2 separate regions of the Homo sapiens genome follow, and region 1 is linked to region 2. Evidence: promoter capture Hi-C in human tissues and cell types (Jung and others, 2019). All regions are on one chromosome and are shown on one strand. Each heading gives the region's core, a stretch centred on a gene start or on the middle of the fragment in contact. The rest is flanking DNA. Distances are from core to core; before and after follow the strand shown. Region 1 holds the start of KNSTRN (kinetochore localized astrin (SPAG5) binding protein). Region 2 overlaps LOC105370941 (a long non-coding RNA gene).

Region 1 (5,719 bases), core at 3,177-5,676, 590 kb after region 2:
GAAAACTAAAATGTCTGAGATGATGGGGTGGGTGGGGTAGGCAGAAAGAGGAGGATGGGAAGAAGTACCAAGGGGAAGGAGGAATGATTTGGGGATGACGGCTGTGTTTATTATCTTAATTGTGGTGATGGTTTCACAGGTATATGTAATTTCTAAACTTATCAAATTGTACACTTAAAATATGTGGTCTATGGAATGTTAATTATATCTCAATAAAGCTGTTAAAATTGTACTGAAACAAAACCATTGGGGGAAACTGGGTAAAGAGTCCAAAGGACCTCCCTATACTATCATTGTAACTTCCTGTCAATTATAACGATTCCAAAATAAAGAATTTAAAAGTGTTTTTAAAATTAAAAAAAAAAAGTCTGAGATGGAAAATCACTGAATGGAATTAACAACAGTTTAGACGTTGCAGAAAAAACAGTAGTGCACTTGAAGACATAACAATAGAAATTATCCAAAAAACACCAAGAGAAAGAATTTTAGAAATGAATACAAAGGGCTAGGCGCAGTGGCTCATGCCTGTAATCCCAACACTTTGGGAGGCTGAGGCGGGCGGATCACCTGAGGTCAGGAGTTCGAGACCACCCTGGCCAACATGGTGAAACCCTGTCTCTGCTAAAAATACAAAAATTAGCCTGGTGTGGTGGTGCATGCCTGTAATCCCAGCTACTCAGGAGGCTGAGGCAGGAGAATCGCTTGAGTACGGGAGACAGAGGTTGCAATGAGCCGAGATGGCACCACTGCACTCCAGCCTGGGCAAAAGAATGAGACTCCATCTCAAAAAAAAAAAAAAAAAGAAAAAAGAAAAGAATACAAAGTATACACAATGTGACCAGGTGGGTGGCTCATGCCTGTAATCTCAGCACTTTGGGAGGCCAAGGTGGGAGAATCAGTTGAGGCCAGGAGCTCCCGACCAGCCTGGGCAACATAGCAAGACTTCATCTCCACAAAAAAATTTTAAAATTAGCCAGGCATGGTGGCACGTGCCTATAGCCCCAACTACTTGGGACGCTGAGGCAGGAAGATCGCTTGAGCCCAAGAGTTGAAGGCTGCAGTGAGCTATGATCGCACAACTGCACTCCAGCCTGGGAAACCAAGCGAGACCGTATCTCAAAAAAAAAGAAAAAAAGTATACACAATATACAACAGGCAGAAAGTATGTCCTTTACAATGATTTAAAGTTATGAAAAAAATTTAAGCCAGGTGAGATAGTGCATGCCTACAGTCTTGGCTACTTAGGAGGCTGAAGTGAGAGGATGGCTTGAGTCCAGAAGTTCAAGGCTACAGTACGCTATCTATGATCACACCTGTGAATAGCCACTGCACTCTAGCCTGGGTGACATAGCAAGATCCTGCCTCTAAAAAAATAAAAATAAAAGTAAACTTAAATTTTAGGTATCAAGTGAAAACAGGCAAGAGGGTTTTTTTATTTTTTTATTTTGTGGGGGCGCATGAATAAAGGAATTTAAAGATGCTACTCTGGATCCCATCTTCCTTCTTCCTTGCTCCTGAGTATCCTTTCCCTCTGTTCTGCTGGCTCGTTCCTATCAGCACACATATCCACAGCTTTAAGGAAAGCTTCCTTTGACCCCCATAACCCATCTCCAGTTACTGCCCAGTTGCTCTGCTCTTTTTGCAACAGACGCCTGGAGTTCTGCCATCTCTGCTTCCTCATCTCCCACGTACTCTTCAACCCATGCCCATGTGACTGCCACTCCAAACGCTCCACCAGCATTCCTCTTGCTAGACTCATCATGACTTCTCTGTTGCTAAATTCATTGGATGCTTTTCGTTCTCATTCTGCTTGCCCTTTCAACTATTTTCAATAGTTCACCACTCCCTCCTTCAGCAGCTTGCCACTTCCTCCTTGGATTTTGGAACACCACCCTTTTTTGTTTTCTTCTCACCTCTCTGGCACTTCTTTATCAGGTTTCTTGGCAAGCACCTTATTACCATTGCAACTTTTAAATGCAGGTGTCCCTGTCCTTGGCCCAAAGGCTCTCTGCACACTTCTTCTCTTGAGCTCATCAAATATCAAGGTTTTATTTTATTTTTTATTTTATTTTGTTTGAGACAGAGTCTCGCTCTGTCACCCAGGCTGGAGTACAGTGGCACCATCTCGGCTCACTGCAACCTCCACCTCTGAGGTTCAAGTCATTCTCCTGCCTTAGCCTCCCAAGTAGCTGGGATTACAGGCATGCACCACCATGCCTGGCTAGTTTTTTGTATTTTTAGTAGAGATGGAGTTTCACCATGTTGGCCAGGCTGGTTTCGAATTTCTGGCCTTAAGTGATCCCACCTCAGCCTCCCAAAGTGCTGGGATTACAGGTGTGAGCCACTGTGCCTGGCCATTTTTTTGTATTTTTAGCAGAGACGGGGTTTCATCATGTTGGCCAGGCTGGTCTCGAACTCCTAAATATCAAGATTTTAAGTACATTCATATGTCAACAACTCCCAAGGGTGTATCTCCAATCCAGGCTCTCTTCTGGGCTCAGGGCCTGTATTTCCAATTGCCTACTTGACCACTCCACCGGAATGCCTCAAAGATATGTCGAGGTTTTCCACGTTCAAAACCCAACTCTCAATCTCCCCCAGCAGAAAATAGTGACTCTATCCACACAATTATTCAAGCCCAATTATTCGAAAAGAAAAAGGACTGGGCGTGGTGGCTCACGCCTGTAATCCCAGTACTTTGGGAGGCCGAAGCGAGCAGATCACCTGAGGTCAGGAGTTTGAGACCAGTCTGGCCAACATGGTGAAACCCCGTCTCTACTAAAAATATAAAAAATTAGCCAAGCGTGGTGGTGGCACTGTAGACCCAGCTACTCGGGAGACTGAGGCAGGAGAATCGCTTTAACTCAGGAGGCGGAGGTTGCAGTGAGCCGAGATCGTGCCACTGCACTCCAGCCTGGGCAACAGAGTGAGACTCCGTCTCCAAAAAAAAAAAGAAAGAAAAGAATATATATATAAAGTATATATAAATTGAGCCAGGTACAGTGGCTCATGCCTGTAATTCCAACACTTTGGGAGGCTGAAGTGGGAGGATCATTTGAGGCCAGGGGTTTAAGACCAGCCTGGGCATCATAGCAGGACCCCATCTCTACAAAAATTAGCTGGGTCTGGTGGCAGGCACCTTTAGTCTTAGCTACTCAGGAGGCCGAGGTGGGAGGATCTCCTGAGCCCAGGAGTTCAAGGTTGCAGTGAACTATGATTGCACTCCAGCCTGGGCAACAGAGTGAGACCCTGTCTCAAAAAATAATAATAAAATAAAATAAAATATAAATTGGATGACACTCTCCTGCTATAATACTTCAGTGGCTTTCCATTACTTTTAGATAAAATCTAATCTCTATACCTTGGCCTGTAAAATCTGTCTTTTGACTGCTTATTTCTCCAGCTTTATCTGTACCACTCTCTTCCTATCTTTCTGTGCCTATAGAAGAACCCATTTCTGCCTTGGGACTTTGCATTTTCCCCTTTCCCCAATGAAATTAACTCCCTCTCCTTCCTTAATCAAACATCATCTCAGAGAGGTCTTCCCTGAGCCCCCAATATAATCTAAGTTTCCCTGCTTTTCTATCTTATACGATTTTGTACTTTTTCTTCATAGTGTGTGTGTTTTGGTTTGATTTTTGAGATCACGCTCTGTCACCCAGGGTGAAGTGCAGTGGCGCGATCTCCGCTCACTGCAACCTCTGCCCCGCCCAGGGTCACATAATTCCCCCACCTCAGCCTCCAGGGTAGCTGGGACTACAGGAGCATGCCACGACACCTGGCTAATTTCTGTATTTTTTGTAGAGACGGGGTTGCACCATGTCGCCCAGGGTGGTCTCAAACTCCTGGACTCAAGCAATTCACCCGCCTCCACCTCCCAAAGTGCTATAATTACAGCTGTGAGCCACTGTGCCCAGCCTTCTTCACAATTTCACCACAATCCGTAAATATATATTTATTTATGTGATTATTTGTTCACTGTCTGTTTTCTAAGTTGTAAACTCCAGGAGGGCAGAGCCAAGGTCAATCTTGATATTTGCCCTCCCTCACTCCCTTCCACCCACTGAGAACACTGTTGGGTAATCAGCAGGTACTCAATAAATGCCAGATGAAATGAATGAGCTAGTGCATTTAGTAATGGAAGCTACCCTGTTTATTGGGAGTAGCTTTGAATCACTACTGAAAATCTGGATAAGTGCTATTAAAATTAGGACCTCAGGTAGGTGCCTCAGGTATCTCAGCCCATAGGTCCTTTTCTTCAAGCCTCACCTGCCACTCTCCACCTGTAACGTGTAGTTTTCATCCAAATAACCTGTGCTCCTGGCAATATCCCTAACAATCCCAAACTAAATAAAGAGGATTGTGACATGGACCCTAAATGTCGCCACGTTTGCGTCTCCATCCCGGAATATGACGCTGGTAGCTCATTAGCTCCATTCAAGCCTACAAATTGCATCACCCTCCTCCTCTGCCCAGACCTGGGGGCTCCAACACCTTTCGCTAGGTCTGGCTCTGGCCTCTGAGCGAACCTTCCGTACAGTATGGCGGCTCCCGAAGCCCCGCCCCTGGACAGAGTTTTCCGTACAACATGGCTGTCTACAGAGTGCGATTCCCACCCACTTCCGCCTAGCTACCGGAAGTTTCTATTTGAAACCCAGGCGGCCGACTTAGCCGGTGGCACGACAGTTGCTGCAGGGAATCTTTTAAACGAGAGCGAGAAGGACTGCGGGCAGGACCGGCGGGCTCCTGGGTTCGGCTCTCCCGGGGCGAGGGACTGGGCTGGATGGGAGGAAGGACGGAATGAGCTGGGAAAGGAGGATTTTCTCTTTTCCAACCCCGAGCCGGGGCCTGTCGGGTCGCGCTATCCCCGGGCCCTCCACTCTCTCGGGCCCAGTGGCCCAGCGCTGGGTAACATTCATCCTGTACCTTCCAGGGTTCAGCCGTGCCGCCTCGTTACGATGACCAGTGTGGTTAAGACAGTGTATAGCCTGCAGCCCCCCTCTGCGCTGAGCGGCGGCCAGCCGGCAGGTGAGGGTCCAAGCCACGCCCGGGGCACTGCGGCCTGGCCGGGGATGGTCTCGGGAGTGTGGAGATCGAATGGGTGGCGCGGGCACGGGGAAGGGCGTCCCGTCGGCCCTGAAAACCTGTGAGCCCCCTATAACCAGGCTATGTAGGTTTATGATGGGAGTTAAGGGAAGGACCATGTGGTAGGATTTTAGACGTGCTCTGCACTTTTCTGCCCGCATGTGTACTGTATTCATCAGTTAGATTCAAGTTGTTGGTTATTGTACAATGTTATTCCCATTAAGCTAGGAATCCCCTTCTAATCGGTTATCGTCTTATTTCCAGACTTGGGCTATCTTGAGGGATTGGGTTTGTTTTCAGGGAGGAAAGAGGAGAATCATTTGAGAAGTGGGATACTTAGGGTTCTTTGTTCACCTTTATATCTGCACCGTGTTTCTCATTACCACATTCTCAATACACGTTTGTTGAGTGAAGTGGGAGAGAGGGGTTAGACCTAGGCACAGTATTTGAGAAACTTGGGCGAAGAGAGAGACATGATTAAAAATAGTTTTTAATTGCTTTGCCATCTGCTTTGTGTTGCTTTGCTTGTGGTTGAAAGTCATCTCATGGGGTCTGCAGTCGGGGAACTGCCTAATCTAGAGATTATAGTACAGAGTAAGCTTCAGACATCAGAAAACTGTTGTGGGAGATTATG
Region 2 (5,794 bases), core at 2,624-5,123:
ACTAAGAAAACAATACCTTCCCAATTTCTCGGGGGGGGAAGGGGCTGAACTAAGAAAAAGCGGACCTATGATTACTGCTGTTTTCATTTTTTTAACTGTTGTTTTTAAAATGCAACATAAGATGCATATAAAGCAAGTGAAAATAAAATTCGGGTTCCACGTAAACTTTGTGTCTCTTCACTGTTTGTAACCTTTCCAGACTAAGTCCCTATTGACTATATTTGCATAAAACTATTTATCTCATTTTGAATTGTTTTGTCTCTGTGTCACTCTCACGTGTTTATTTACCTCCTGCTGCTTCCATTTTGTAAACTGCCGAGAGGCTGTGTGTGCCTTAAGGGCCAGCTTTAATAAATTGCATTTGTTGTGTATTTGTTTTTAATTTCCCCAGATACTTCTGTGTCAGCTATTGCAGGTGACACCCTCAAAACAGCACGGGGATATAAGTCCGAGAGCACCAAATGTCTATACTGTGTTTTCTGCAGTTCCATTTTCAAAAATCGCAAACACATCCTGGAAAGTGTTGTGCCCTTCAAAGTCATTCATAAAAATTTCTTCTAGAGTCAAGATATTTGAAGCTAAAATTTCCCTGGTCTCATTCCAGGTTGGTGACATATGGCAGTGGCAGTGTTAGTTTCGGAGTTAGCTTTTGTTTTTGTTTGCAGTCTCTCCCTACTCTTGACATCCTCCTTCCGAGTGGAGTCAGATTTGAATGAATGAAAGCGAGCAAGAGCATTGTTTGCCATCTGGGCACCAACTACCATTTCAGCCTTGTTGCCCCGGTTGCCCTTTCCTCACCATAAACTTCAACCGAATGTAACAATATGGTAGGAGAGGGATCTCATTAAGCCTCATATCGTAGATTCTACACACTGGATTTTGTGTATAATAGCCATTCCTACTGGAGAGCAGATAATAGTGTTTACCACTGGATAGTTCCCATGTCCTGTGAATCTATGCTTAGTGTTATTGAAAAACTGCATTTACAAAGTGTTTCAGACTTGCCTTCCAAGCATCATTTCACTTCATTCATAACATTCTATGAGTCGGCACTAGTATTACCTGGATTTAGAGTTGAGAAGCAGAGCACCTAAAGGGTAAGTAATTGTCCCAAGGTCGTTGGGGAACTAACTGGCACCGGGATTCCAACCTAGGTTCCAAAGCCTGCCCTCCATCTCCTCAGGGGTCCGAATTCTAGAAGAGGAGATATTTGTGTCCACTAGATGGTGCTGATTGTCCTCTTAAAAAAAAAAATTGGCAGCCACTTTCAGAAACACGTTCCTTTGGATTTTAGGTGTAATTCAAGAAACCACTGAACTGAAGTATCTTGTATGTCTGAATTGTGCCTGGATGCATCTTTAAATAGCCACCCAAATAGGAAAAGTGAAAATTTGATCTCAAAAAAACTGCATTTTTTAAAATGTTAGTACCTATAAATAATATCAAAAAACCATGGTGACTTTGAGACTCTGAAAATTCTCATACATCTGTATTTACATTAAATCAGTAGACTTAAGAAGAAATACATGTTTTATTCCATGTACCCCTTTTATACCAACTGTACTCCCTCCAGCATCTCCCAATCCTGCTTGGCCACAATGCCATCCATGCCAGCAAGGGTCATGAACAGGGAAGTAAATAAAGCCTGAAAAAAACAACAATCAGATTCTGGAACAGGTAACACTTTTTTCTTTTTCTTTTTTTTTTTTTTTTTTGAGATAAAGTCATGCTCTTTCACCCAGGCTGGAGTGCAGTAGCACAATGATCATGGCTCACTGCAGCCTCAACTTCCCAGGTTCAAGCAACCTCCCACCTCAGCCTCATGAGTAGCTGGGACTACAGGCATGCAACACCATGCCCGGTTGAATTTTTTTTTTTTTTTTTGTAGAGGTGAGGTCTCCCTATGTTGCCCAGGCTTAATGCTATTATTATTGAAAGTAAAATACATGTTAAGTATATGTTTCATATGTGCTTAGTACCTTATTTTAGTACATTTTTTAGAACTTAAAAGCTGTGAAATAAACCCGATTCAAATGGGTTGTCAGATTTTGTTGTTGAGAAGGATCAGTTCAGGTGTTATTTAAAATATTGATTCTAGTCCCTATTACATGATTCAGTGGGTCTGGAATGCAGACCAGGAATCTGCATTTTTAACAAGTCCCTTGGTGCTTGTGGTACAGATGAACCACTGACTTCAAGTTAATGTTTTAGAGGGTAAATAGTGGTGAGGACATTGCTCCTGGAGGCACCATGGAGCCCCCTGCAGCTGTTCTACACGGAGGCTGTGAACAGTGACATCCAGCACTTCCTTTGTAAACAGCAGGCTAGAGACTGAAAAATGCTCTCCCTGTAGAACTCTTTCCCTCCTCTCCCTGTCTGCTGTGGAGTGCTGCACAGAATTAGCTGCTGGTCAGTGGATGTCTCCATTTTTTAAAAGATCAAGCTTACAACTTCTCAATGCCTATTGGTCCAAAAACAGTGATGACTTTAGGTTTGTTTTCAGTTAAAGAAGTTAGATCATGTATTGTCATATAACTATTCAACTGGCTCGAGCGATCCGAATGTCAACCTAGGGGGCCACAAACTTCCAGGACATTGTGAAATTGTGTAAAAATCAGTGCACACATACACACACACACACACACATAGCAGTGCAGCTACATGTTTCTGGCCTAGAGGGTTGTTTTTAAAGATAGTAAAGTAAATCAATGAAAACGAAGGTATGTTATAATATCCAGAGTCATTTGCAGGGGGAAGGTGTCATGTCAAGTGGGCCCTAAAGCAATCAGCTCTGCCAAGTGAGTCATTCTCACCAGAAAGGAGAAAAAAATCGGTTTCTCTTCTTTTCTAAGGAAATTCCCTCAAAGTAACAGACTGCTTAACTTTCTCATGATCTTACTGGCTACAAAGTTTGGTCACCCGCAGCAACTCTGTACCTGTAAAGATTTAAAGAGTTGGCAGAAACTTCCCAAGGCCAGCTGCAGTTTCAGTTGCTGGATGCCCACTGAGATTAGTGTCTCGCCCCTGTCAGCTGAATGGATGTGACACTGCTTGCGCATAATGGCTGAAATTGCACTGCAACTATCAATCCTGGGCTGAAACCAACAGATTCTGAACATTGCCCATGCATTGGGTTTCATGCTTCATGCTTTCAACCTACAGGTAAGCTTGTCTCTGAGTCCAAAACCTAACTTCAGTATTGAGCTTGGTCTCTCTGATCCCATAGGGGTTTGTTAGTTTGTTGTTTTAAATTGGATCTCCTGATCTGTGTACTTGGTTGAGGTAAGCAGGTCTATGCAAACCTACCCCCAAAGGCCAAGGAAGCTGAGAGGCCAATGAAAGAAGCTGACAAGTCCAGTTTCTCAGAAAGAAACATTCAATAAGGGCTTACAAACAGAAGCCATGTCTCTGGCGGCCAGAGAGACAGTGGATCCCCGCAACTGCCCTCCAGAAAGCATCTTTTATATAGCAAGATTTTAGGGAAAGATGTGCAGCCAGTCATGCCTCAGGCCTTCTTGCAAAACTCATGACCCCTGGGGTGGTTAGATAAGCATCTCTATGAGAGTTTATCTATGCTACAGGAACACATTGGTCATCTTGCTATGCAACAGGCCGTTTTCCTACAATACTAAAATGAAGCTTTAGTATATAGTTATGTAAGCCTTCATTATTATGTAAACCTTTGTACATATTTTAACAAAAAATAAAGGAAGCTAAAATAATTAAGATGCCATATTAGAAACATTCAAATCAAATATTTAGGGTGTTAAGCAGCAAGGTAAGGAAATGATTTTTCTCAGAGTTAACATCTCAGACATAAAGAAATAAGAAGTAAACCACCCCAGGGGTTTGTTCATCAGTCATGGGTCAGGCTGCCACAATGTTTAAGTCTCATCCTGGCATTCTTAGCTTCTCACTTTATTTCTTACACAATCTTTTTCTTAGCTGGAATCCAAAGTAATGTTTCTATCTGAACATACAGTGTTTATTACACTAGGAACTAGTCATCATTTTGAAGACTTGGTTTTCTTGTTTACATTTTTAAAATTTGATCATCCAAACTCCTTTCTTAATAGAAGCTGGCTTATTTTCCCCTTATTTTGCCATAATAGGCAAACTAAAATTAGTGCTTTAATTTTGTTCAAAATTTGTGATGTTTTATATTTTTGTAATTCATCACTGACACACATTTTAAAATACACATCTCTGGATTTTCTGTCCTGTCTTTGCCAAGAACAGTGTGGCCTGGGCCTAGTCTCTTAACCTCTTTCCACCTCAGTTTCTTTGTCTAGTAAATAAGAGGTAGATAAAGGTTTCTACCACTACTTCCAGCTCTGAGACCCTGTGATTTTCTGATTTAAGCAGTCTCTGCTCTCTTTGGAAATGACCTGCTTCTCAACCCAACATTCATAACAATGTAAAAGGCATCTGCTCAACGTGCATGGCAGCAAGAATTACTTGTTTAGAAACATCTGGGTAATGGTAACAACCATCTGTCTTGTCCCTGCAATTGTCGAACAAAGAATTAAGCAAGCAAAACCACAAGAGAAGTGCCCTATTTTTATAGAACGATGCAATAGAACAGAATTTGTTTAGGTTTTATGAGAGTTGCATATGTATCCCACCTCTGTTATGGAACGGCAAGCCTCTTCACCTCTGCAGACTTCAGTTTACCAGCCTATCTGTCAAACAATGGGAAGATAACTCTCTAGCACTGTTCCTTATTTTGTTGAAATAGAGAAATTAATATGTTCTTGAGACACTATACTGAATTTTTCATTGCACTTGTTAATAAAATGAGTATTTTCATGTCAAATAACAGCAACCATCCAATCCATGCTGGAGAATGAAAGAAAAGCAGATGAATTATCAGGTTCAATTCATATCTGGTGTGCATTAAATGCTCATCTATCTTGTATAGCTTGCTACAGATGATGGTATTTTGGTGAAAATTGCCAACAATTTTTTAAATGAATCTAGAGATCATTACCTGGACCCAAATTTGTGAGAATTTTGCATTCGGGTGGACACTTGCATCCATGCATTCAATTTTCTATCATTCATTGGTCATTTTTTCTGAGTTAAATCCTCTAGCGAGGGCCGGGCACGGTGGCTCACGCCTGTAATCCCAGCACTTTGGGAGGCAGAGGCGGGCGGATCACGAGGTCAGGAGATCTAGACCATCCTGGCTAACACGGTGAAACCCCGTCTCTACTAAAAAATACAAAAAATTAGCGGGCGTGGTGGTGGGCGCCTGTAGTCCCAGCTACTCAGGAGGCTGAGGCAGGAGAATGGCGTGAACCCGGGAGGCGGAGGTTGCAGTGAGCGGAGATTGCGCCACTACACTCCAGCCTGGGCGACAGAGCAACACTCCGTCTCAAAAAAAAAAAGAAAAAAAACCAAAAAACCTCTAGCGAACTATTTCTGGGCAAGTGAACTTTTCAGCATTTCTCTAATCATGCCTAATTGCTCAGAGATTCTGACAGGGATAGGAACAAGATGGTCACATGAATCTTCTCCAACTCCTCACCTCCATTCCTTTGAGATAAAAAGTGTTGGAAGTCAGGGGGATTTCTAGGTACTAACTATGCAATAGTTACCCCTTCACAATAGTTAGCAGGGGAAGAAATGGAAGGCCTTAATTAAGGAAATATTTCTTTATTTCTCAACCTACTATCTACTGAATTACTTATATTTCATCATGAAAAAGACATTTAAAAGCAGTGGTTTCTGTCCTCCATAATTTGCTTATGGAGTAGGCATTTTTAAAAATTATTAATTCAGGCCGGGCGCG

What was found. The method cuts DNA at HindIII sites, captures the fragments that hold promoters and counts their contacts. A contact is called where the count stands out against the background at its distance.
Region 1: the fragment with the promoter of KNSTRN here is called in contact with a fragment that was not itself captured in region 2 in 2 of the 25 tissues and cell types used here (IMR-90 fibroblasts and lymphoblastoid cells).

What each region holds. Positions count from the first base shown.
Region 1 is chr15:40,378,295-40,384,013 of GRCh38, forward strand. KNSTRN (kinetochore localized astrin (SPAG5) binding protein) reads left to right here and starts at 4,427. Exons shown (of 9, transcript NM_033286.4): 1 at 4,427-4,750; 2 at 4,934-5,028. The coding sequence starts at 4,542. It overlaps DISP2 (dispatched RND transporter family member 2), which reads left to right. Exons shown (of 8, transcript NM_033510.3): 8 at 1-327. RefSeq lists enhancers at 3,305-3,805, 4,431-4,500, 4,460-4,983, 4,749-4,918, 4,984-5,505. The HindIII fragment of the contact is 15,043 bases long and covers 1-5,719 here.
Region 2 is chr15:39,785,453-39,791,246 of GRCh38, forward strand. It overlaps LOC105370941 (a long non-coding RNA gene), which reads left to right. Exons shown (of 1, transcript NR_135665.1): 1 at 1-165. Among named protein-coding and RNA genes, the nearest start is that of FSIP1, 5.5 kb to the left of the region's middle. The HindIII fragment of the contact is 5,703 bases long and covers 1,023-5,794 here.